Linked DNA regions of Homo sapiens: all the other regions are linked to region 1. Evidence: promoter capture Hi-C in 16 types of primary human blood cells and fetal thymus (Javierre and others, 2016). All regions are on one chromosome and are shown on one strand. Each heading gives the region's core, a stretch centred on a gene start or on the middle of the fragment in contact. The rest is flanking DNA. Distances are from core to core; before and after follow the strand shown.

Region 1 (2,788 bases), core at 289-2,788:
CAGTGGGAGCCACTGAAAGGGTTAAAGACCCCTGGGGGTGCTGAGTGGGAAGAGGCTCTGGGAGCTGGAGTGGACGCAGGGAGACCAGTTATAAGGCGAATGCAGGAGTCCAGGCAAAAGAGAATATTCCAGTGTGTATCTTAAGACTTAACTTTTTACACACAGAACACCCTGCGCCCCTCTCAGAGCCTCCGGGGTCTTCATGCGAGCAGTTTATCACGGTTCTTTCGTCTTAAACCCTCTTACTATTTCAGCAAACACCCTCTCCTCAGCCTGGTCAACCCCTCTGCCCAACCCGAGTGGGCCCCGAAGGAACAAGTGGGGACCAGAGTCCTGCTCATGTGAGTGGTGGGGCCCAGCCCGTTCCCCTAAGACCAGAATTCTCTCGCTCAGAGCAAAGCCCCGGGGTGCCGGGATTCTCTCTCTGCTCCCGCTCCCTGGATGGAGCTTTTAAAAAAGGAGGATTCCTCACTGCGGCCTCTGCCCCTTGCACTGAGCGCCAACCCGCATCACAGCTCAGCAAAGGCGCGCGCAGTGAACAGACGGAGGAGGGGTGGCTCCTCGCTGAGCTGAAGGCTGCGGCGACGAAAATAAACAGCATGGTTCCTGCTCTCCACGAACCTGGCGCTGCAGACGTGGGCAAACCACACCAAGAGACGCGAGCAACCGAAATATAGGGAGAAAAAAAAAGGTGCCCTGGACAGCGGGCTAGATGTCTCCTGCAGGCTCGAGGACTTCCCGGAGGGGGCGGCGTTTTCTCGGGGCCTGGGAAGAATGGGCGGGTTTCAGCGGGCGCCTTCTGGGTGACTGCCCGTTTCGGCTTCCCCTGACCCCGTAACAGAGCGGAAGAGGCCCAGAGACGCCAGAGGAGGGGCGTCAGCGGGACACTCAGGCCAATAAGCTCTGACTCCCGCTGTCTGCAAAAATGACCGGATGCAGGAATGTCACCTAGAACCGGCCAGCTTTCCGACCTCTCCGGTCAAGGACGCATTCCTAAGAGACGAAGGGAGAATGACAGAAGTTAAAAACAACCAAACAAAAGCCAGGTTGAGGCCTCTAGGTGGGTCTCCGCTACCGATGGATTCAGCCGGTGGGGCTGCAGGAGGTTCCTATAAGCGTGGTCCCCTCTCCCCGCACCGAGTCCGGCCCCGGCCCTGGGATTTCCCCAGCCGCCGCCCCGCCCCCTCCGCCCCGCCGCCCCCGCCGCCCCGCCGCCCCCTCCGCCCCCGCCGCCCCCTCCGCCCCCGCCGCCCCCTCCGCCCCGCTTGCCCCTGGCGCCGCTGCGACCTTTCCCTTACTTTCCAGGGCCTCAGGCCCCGCCCCTCGCTCCGACCAAAACACGTGCCGCGTCCCGCCCTGCCCGATCACGCCGCGGCCAGGCTCCGATCACGCGGCCCCCCGCGGCGCTCATTGGCCGGCCGGGCACGAATTGGCTGGTGGTGGCCGGCCCCGCCCCGGCAGGGGCGCGGTGTATTTTGGTTCGCCTCCGCGCCCCGCCCCGCCAGCCGCTCCCTCCGCGGCCGCCCCGCCCCTCCCGCGCCGCGAGGGCCGCGCCGGGGCAGAGCCGCGCGGGCGGGCGAGGCGCGTGCCGGCCGCAGGAGCTCCGGGTTGCCGCCGCCGCCGCCGCCCGCAGCCCACGTGCGGCCGCTGCTGCGCCCGAGCTCACGCCCCGCGGCCGCTTTGTTGCTCCCGGCCGGCCTGCACGATGCACACGCCGGACTTCGCAGGCCCAGACGACGCGCGCGCAGTGAGTGGTGGGGCTGCCGCGGCGGGACTACTCGTCTGAGCGAGGGGCGAGGCGGGGGAAGTGGTGCGGCACTCGCGCGCCTGTAAATGCGGGAGGTGGGGCGTGCAGGGCTTCGCTGCGGCCGCGCCGGTAGGGGCCTGGGCGGGCTCCGGAGCCGGGCGGGGCGGCGGCCGCGACGGGCGCGCCCGGGTCGGCGGGGGCGAGGAGGGGGCGTGTTCCCCGCGCAGCTTTGTCTTGCGCTTCCTGGGCGGCCCCGCCCCGCTGGCCCCGCGGCTATTTCCAGCCATGACGTCACCCCGGTCCTGTGAGCCGGACGGCCGTTGGGCGGGGGAGCGGCTGGCGGGAACGCGGCACGCGGCCTTGGGGGCGGGGCAAGAGCTGCTGGCGGGAACGCGGCACGGTTTTGGGGGCGGGGCACGCGGCCGTCGGGCGGGTTAAGAGCGGCTAGCGGTAGTGCCGCTCGGGCCTGGGGGCGGGCAAGGTCTAGGGGCCGGGGCAACGACGGGAGGCGGGAGCGCCGCACTGCCTTGGAGGCGGGGCAACGCTTGGAGGCGGGAACGCGGCACGCGAGCGTTGGGGGCCCTAAGCGTCGCGACCTGGGGGCTTCGGGGAGGTAGCCGTGGACGTGGGCAGAGCGCGGGCCTCGTGGTGTGCGGGCACTGTGGGCCGGGCGAGCCCCTTCCCGCCCGTGTGGTGAGTCGGCCTCGGCGCCCGGTTCTGTGACATCACAGGGGGTTTAGTGGCGCAGCCTGCGGGACAGAGGCCGGGGATTTGAGGTGGCCTCGTCTTGTTTGATCTCGGGGAACCTCGGCAGACGGAAAGCTTTGATGCTTTGGTGCATGGCAGATAGAGAGGAAACGTGTATCTTCGTACATTTAAAGTTTCCTTTCCTTTTTTTTTTTTTTGATAGGGAGTCTCGCTCTATCGCCCAGGCCGGAGTGCAGTGGGCGCGCGATCTCGGCCCACTGTAACCTCCCTGGGAGGGAGGGGTATTACTCTTCTCAGAGTAATATCACCCTCTCGCCCCCGGCTTAGTTTTCT
Region 2 (2,788 bases), core at 178-2,677, 410 kb before region 1:
ACCAGGACATTGTGTTCTTCAGATACAGCTGTGTCCTTTTCACATTTCCCGAACTCCCCTCCTCTCCTGTTTATGGGGGGTGGGGGGGAGCACAACAGATACTCTTACTTGAAAAATAAAGTATCTGTTCAGATTTTCTAAGTAAATTTCCATTACTGGGTTTGGGAAAAAATCCCTACTACATTGTCTGTAACAAAAAGGTGCCTGCGCCTTCTTTCAACTGCCTGAAGCTTGTGAACCGACTGAATACATTTAAAGGGCTCACAGATCTCAGGACGCAGTCTCCCCGCACAAGAAACTTAAAAACGCCTTTCAGTCTCGCAGAGACCTACTTGGATGTTTCCAAGTTCCATCGTTTGGTAGCTACCCAGCATCTGGGGCGAAAAAAAAGGACTTATCCTTGGAAAAGCGGCTTCTTGAGTCTCAACAACCGGAGGGACACAGTAGGGAAGTCAGGGCTCACCTAAAACCCTCCACCCCAGCAGACAGTCCGGCAAGCCCCGGCTCACGTTTGTTTCCGTGCCCGCGAAACTCTCAATGAAAAGCATCTCACAAAAGGCCTCCCCTGCTCCCCGCGCCGAGGACTCACCAGCACCGTGGTGCAGATGGATCTCAGCTCGGACTCCACTTTCTCCCGATAGTCCTTAATCAGCTGCAACTTCTTGTCGGAGGTGTCGGTCTTCTGCTCGATGCTAGAGATGACCCTCCAGGCGGACCTGCGGCCCCCGACCACGTTCTTGTAGGCCACGGAGAGCAGGTTGCGCTCCTCGTTGGACAGCTCGGCGCCCTGCTCGGTCACTGCCTTCATGCAGGTGGCCATGTCGTCGTAGCGCTCGGCCTGCTCGGCCAGCTTGGCCTTCTGGATCAGCTCAGTCTTCTCCATGGCGGGCGCGGGGCCGGGGCCGGGGCGGAGGGCGAGGAGAGCGAGGGCGAGCGCCGACCCGCAGCGGGAGGAGCCTCGAGAGCTGCGGAGGGGCGGGGCGGCGAGGCGAGAACAAAAAGCAGAGAGGGAGCGCCGTCAGACAATGCGGCCCGCCGCCCGCTTTTGTCTCCCGCACACGCGGCCGCTTGAATTTCCCTCTCCCCCGCCCCCTCCCCCGCTGGGCACCCGGGGAGGCCGCGGCCCGCGGCTGGAGGAGGCGGGGGCGGCGCGGAGGCCCCGCGCGCAGGGAGCCCGAGCCGCGGCCGCTCCCGCCACCCCCGCCCGGCCGGCCCAAGATGGAAGCGACCGTTGGCCCCGCACCTTCCCGCCCGGAGCCGTCCCTGAGGGGAGCGGCATCGACAACCGGCTGCTCTCAAGGGCGGCACCTCCGCCCGGCCCTCAATCCGAGCGCGGCCGGAGGAAGCCCGCGGGCCGACCCAGGCGCTCACCTTCACGTCTCCGCGGCCGCGACGCGAGTCCCACCACTTTGATCTGCTTTTGGCTTTAGCTGAGGACCCTCCCGTGTCAGCCTACCCCGGGGCCGAGGGGCGGTCCACCGCCCAATGATGCGCCGAGCTTCTCCCGAGAGTCCCGCCCCCAGCGCGCCGCTGGCCAATGAGGACCGAGCGCGCGGAAGGGGGCGAGGGGGGCGGAGCGGGAGGGAACGCGGAGGCTAGGAGGGTGGGTCGGTACGGGGAAGTTCGGTTGGCCGGCAGGCTGCGGCTTCGGCCACGGGGTTTCCTCCAATTAGATCCAGGGTAAAAGGACGTCACTGTTGCCATGGCGATGCCGTTACCAACTCCCCTCAGCCTCCCCGCCACCCCGGCACTTCTGGGTGCGGCACGAGACCCAGAGGCGCGCACGACCTCCTAGGCGGCGGCTGCGTCTCCCGCTGCGGATGGTGCATTGCATCTCACGGGCTCTGGCCGAGGCTGGACTTCGGAGGGTGACATATTCAGCTGTTTTAGAGCACGGGGGCCTTTCTTTCCTCCACCTTTCTATCCGTGACAAAGGTTTGGATCCCAAGACACTAAACCCAGACCTTAATGACGTTGCCATTAGGGCTCCGAATTAAGCAAACCGCATCCCCATTAAAGAAGAATTGATTCTGGAGACGGTGTCTTCAGTATGGCATTTACATGATAAATTCAAGTTTTCAGATGGGCATCCTAAAACAAAAAATTCCCTTGTGAAAAGGTAGGTCCCAGAAGATCCAGGGGAGTTTCTGTGACAATGCCAAGTATTGTGGTTTTCTTTAAAATGAGAAATGACATTAAGCACAATTTGCAGGAAAACACCTATTACTACCCCTTCCCACCCCCGCAAAAAAAAACCCTGCCCATAACATCTCTCCCCGCAAAAAAAAAGCAATTTTTATGTATCTTTTAGGCTTTCCAGGTTATGCACCTAAATACATCATTTTTCACATCGTTGTCACATGTGCACACGCTTTTGTTTCTGGTATTATTTGTGAGAGGTCACTTGAAAAGCTGAAATCCTCTCCCTGGATGTTGATTTCTGATTTTCTCCTCCTGGGGAACACCCTGCTGAAGCGAGAAAGATTCCCCCAGGCCCCTCCCATTCAGGGTCATCCCTGGCAGCTCCCTTTCCTCTTAAACCACTCCTGTCTCTCCTTGCACTTCCCCAGTTCCCTAACTCCATCCAGGTAGGGTGGCTGCCCTGCCCGTCTGGCGCGTGGTCCCTGTGCCATCTTAAGATGAGAATTGCCCTCTGGGTTCACGCTGCTATGATCCCGATTCCAGCAGGTCTAAGGAGAATGGATCATAAAGAATTTCCCATTCTGAGTGGAGACTGGAGCAAATCCGGAGAATCTCTAGAATGGGAGATTTGAGAGTGCAGACAGAT
Region 3 (2,788 bases), core at 185-2,684, 360 kb after region 1:
CCACCACCATCACCATCATCACCACCATCACCGCCACCATCACCATCACCACCACCGCCGCCACCACCGCCACTGCCACCGCCACCATCACCGCCACCACTACCGCCACCGCCACCACCACCGCCACCGCCACCGCCACCACCACCACCACGAGTTGAGGGACTCTGGGATCAGAAGGCACTTTCCAGCACATTCACACCATTGGCCGTGGATGTTGTGGGTCAGGTGATGGGCACTGGAAGGGCCTTCCGCTTCTCTCTGCCCCTGGCCCTTGGTCATGTACAGCAGGCCGCTCCCCGGGCAGTGGAGAAGCAGCACCTGCATACTAAGGCTCGAGTCCCAGCCTCCCCTACCAGCCTCCCTCTCCACGTCCCCAGACACTCATGCGTTCCTTCCCTTGAGGTGGGTTCATGGAGCACGTACCCTGTGTCAGACAAGCTTCCAGGCTCTGGGCTTCTGATGGAGAACAGACCAGAGTAAACCTGGCCCCAAGGACCTTGAGCTCCACTCAAGGGGAGACAGACAGTGAACTCAACAAAACAGAAATGAGAGAAAGGATCAAGCTGGAAAGGGGATAAAGAATGAGTGTCGGTTTTGGATAGAGTGCTTGGGGAAGGCCTTCCTGAGATGAGACCTGACCAAAGGCCTGCAGGAGGTCAGGGACGGGCGTGCTTCTAGCTAAGGAGCAGCTGGTGCAAAGGGCCTGTGGCAGACGTGCACCCGTGGCAAGGAGGGGGCGAGCAGGCGGCTCAGCCAGGTCGGAGTGGGTCACACCTGAGGGGCAGGACGCTGGCAACCCCGACCGCTGAGGAAGACAGGTGCGAGCAGCATCTCGGCACAGCCAGACCCCCACCATACGGCAGCCCTCTGTGTCCCTTAAATAAGGATGCCTCCTCCCAGGCTTAAGAGATCATTGTTGCTCATAGTGATTTGTGTAGCCAACAATTCTTCTGGAAGAAGTTAGATGAACAGGGCCATGGAGATTTGGGGCCGGAAGAGCAGGACCCCAGGCTTGCCTCCCCTCTAGTGCTGGCCAGGCCGTGGATCCCAGGCGGGCATCTCAGAGAGCCATCTGAGCGGCCTTTCTGGAAGTGCCCTCCTAGGCAGACGCTGGTCATGAGGCAGGGCAGCGGGGAAGGGACAATCCTCCTGTGTTGTACATTGAGGGTTATATTTAGGGTGACTTGGGATGACTTGGCAGTATCACTTCCTGTGGTCGTCCCCTCCAGCCCTCAGCCACGGAGGGCAGATCCTGTCTGACAAGCATTGTGGGCAGACACGTGCCTGCACACACGTACACACCCACATGCACACATACACACACGCACACACATACACACATTGTGGGCAGGCACAACTTGGCATTCTCATCTGCCCTGGAATTGGTGGAGGGCTGGGGACATTGTCCTGGCCCTTCTGCAGGACCGCCAGGTGCCTGGCGGGGGAATCCTAGCCGTCAGCATCTCCGGAGCATCTGCTCCATGTCGGGCTCTGTGTGAAGGGCTGCATCCAGATCCCACATGAGCAAGACCGGCCTAGCCTCCCCATCTGGTTGGGAGATGCCAGGCAGAGGTGGAAGGAAGGGCGGCTGACCTGCCCCTTAGTCTGCTCAGCCACACAGGCAGCCACAGCCGAGGCTGCACAAGGACACTCCCCTGACCTTGCTGCCTGCTGGCCCCGGGTCTCCAGGCCAGGTCCGAGCCAGCCAGGCTCCTCCCCACCCATGTCACCGGCCTCTCTAGGTGGAGTCCACAGTGATCTTTGCTCCCCTTCCCCAGGCATCCAGCACCACACCAGGCACAGGGCCTGGTATTTCTGGGACAGCCCAGATTACACGTTTTCTCTCAGTTACCCCCTAGAATATTCTTGGACTTCTCAGACCCCATGTGCAAATTTTTAGCTTAGAAGTAATCACTGGGATCATAGACGATGTTTAGCAAATATCTGTTCTTTTGGGTGTTCCTAGGCCCCCAGAGGGTCTCCGGGAAACTGGCTCTTTTGCTGAGGCTAGAGACTATCTGGGCTAGAATGTGTCTGATGGGGCTCTCGGAGGGTGCACAGACAGTGCCGCGGTGGCCGAAGATCCACTATTCCAAGGCCGGATCTGCAGAGGATTTGGAAGTTGTCTGTAAGGAGCGCCTAGATCACCCGGACCTTCTCTCTCCCTCCTTGACTTCCTTCCTGCCTCTCGTCAAACAATTACTGTGTGCTTCCTGTGTTCTAGGCGCTGTGCTAATAATTGGTTATGGGATTATTCCTAGCCACACCCTGGGTAAATGGAACCCAGCTCTCTGTCCTTGGGAAAAGGGTCAGGAGAGAACTGGGGCCCAGCTGGGAAGCTGGAGGCTTGAGGCTGCTGGTCCATGTTGGAATGCTGTCTCCCTCTGCCATCCAGCACCCAAGCCCGGCGCCAGGCTCAGAGCAGGAACTGAAGCTTTTGCTGTTGTTGTTGTTTTTGTTTTTTGAGACAGTCTCGCTGTGTCTCCCAGGCTGGAGTGCAGTGGTGTGATCTCAGCTCACTGCAAGCTCCGCCTCCTGGGTTCAAGCGATTCTCTGCCTCAGCCTCCTGAGTAGCTGGGATTACAGGCGCGCACCACCACGCCCGGCTAATTTTTGTATTTTGAGTAGAGACGGGGTTTCACCATCTTGGCCAGGCTGGTCTTGAACTCCTGACCTCAGGTAATCTGCCCGCCTCGGCCTCCCAAAGTGCTGGGATTGCAGGCATGAGTCACCGCACCCGGCCAGGAACTGAACCTTGGTAGGAGAAGGAAAGAAGGAGTTCCTGTCT

What was found. Contacts are between HindIII fragments. The CHiCAGO score rates a contact against its expected background, and 5 or more counts as called.
Region 2: the fragment with the promoter of YWHAQ here is called in contact with the fragment with the promoter of KLF11 in region 1 in 1 of 17 cell types (naive CD8 T cells); the score reaches 5.8 in naive CD8 T cells.
Region 3: a contact is called between a fragment that was not itself captured here and the fragment with the promoter of KLF11 in region 1, in 1 of 17 cell types (monocytes). The highest score is 5.6, in monocytes.

Annotation. Positions count from the first base shown.
Region 1 is chr2:10,042,012-10,044,799 of GRCh38, forward strand. KLF11 (KLF transcription factor 11) reads left to right here and starts at 1,539. Exons shown (of 4, transcript NM_003597.5): 1 at 1,539-1,747. The coding sequence starts at 1,706. It overlaps KLF11-DT (KLF11 divergent transcript), which reads right to left and starts at 1,390. Exons shown (of 3, transcript NR_135558.1): 1 at 1,299-1,390; 2 at 622-993. RefSeq lists a promoter at 797-1,696 and silencers at 1,383-1,612, 1,903-1,952, 2,073-2,122, 2,163-2,232. The HindIII fragment of the contact is 6,616 bases long and covers 1-2,567 here.
Region 2 is chr2:9,629,570-9,632,357 of GRCh38, forward strand. It overlaps YWHAQ (tyrosine 3-monooxygenase/tryptophan 5-monooxygenase activation protein theta), which reads right to left and starts at 1,428. Exons shown (of 6, transcript NM_006826.4): 1 at 1,372-1,428; 2 at 590-965. The coding sequence starts at 883. RefSeq lists enhancers at 14-916, 660-759 and silencers at 880-1,229, 1,430-1,529, 1,580-1,749. The HindIII fragment of the contact is 4,477 bases long and covers 229-2,788 here.
Region 3 is chr2:10,399,457-10,402,244 of GRCh38, forward strand. All of the region lies in intron 2 of HPCAL1 (hippocalcin like 1), which reads left to right. Among named protein-coding and RNA genes, the nearest start is that of SNORA80B, 46 kb to the right of the region's middle. The HindIII fragment of the contact is 1,996 bases long and covers 437-2,432 here.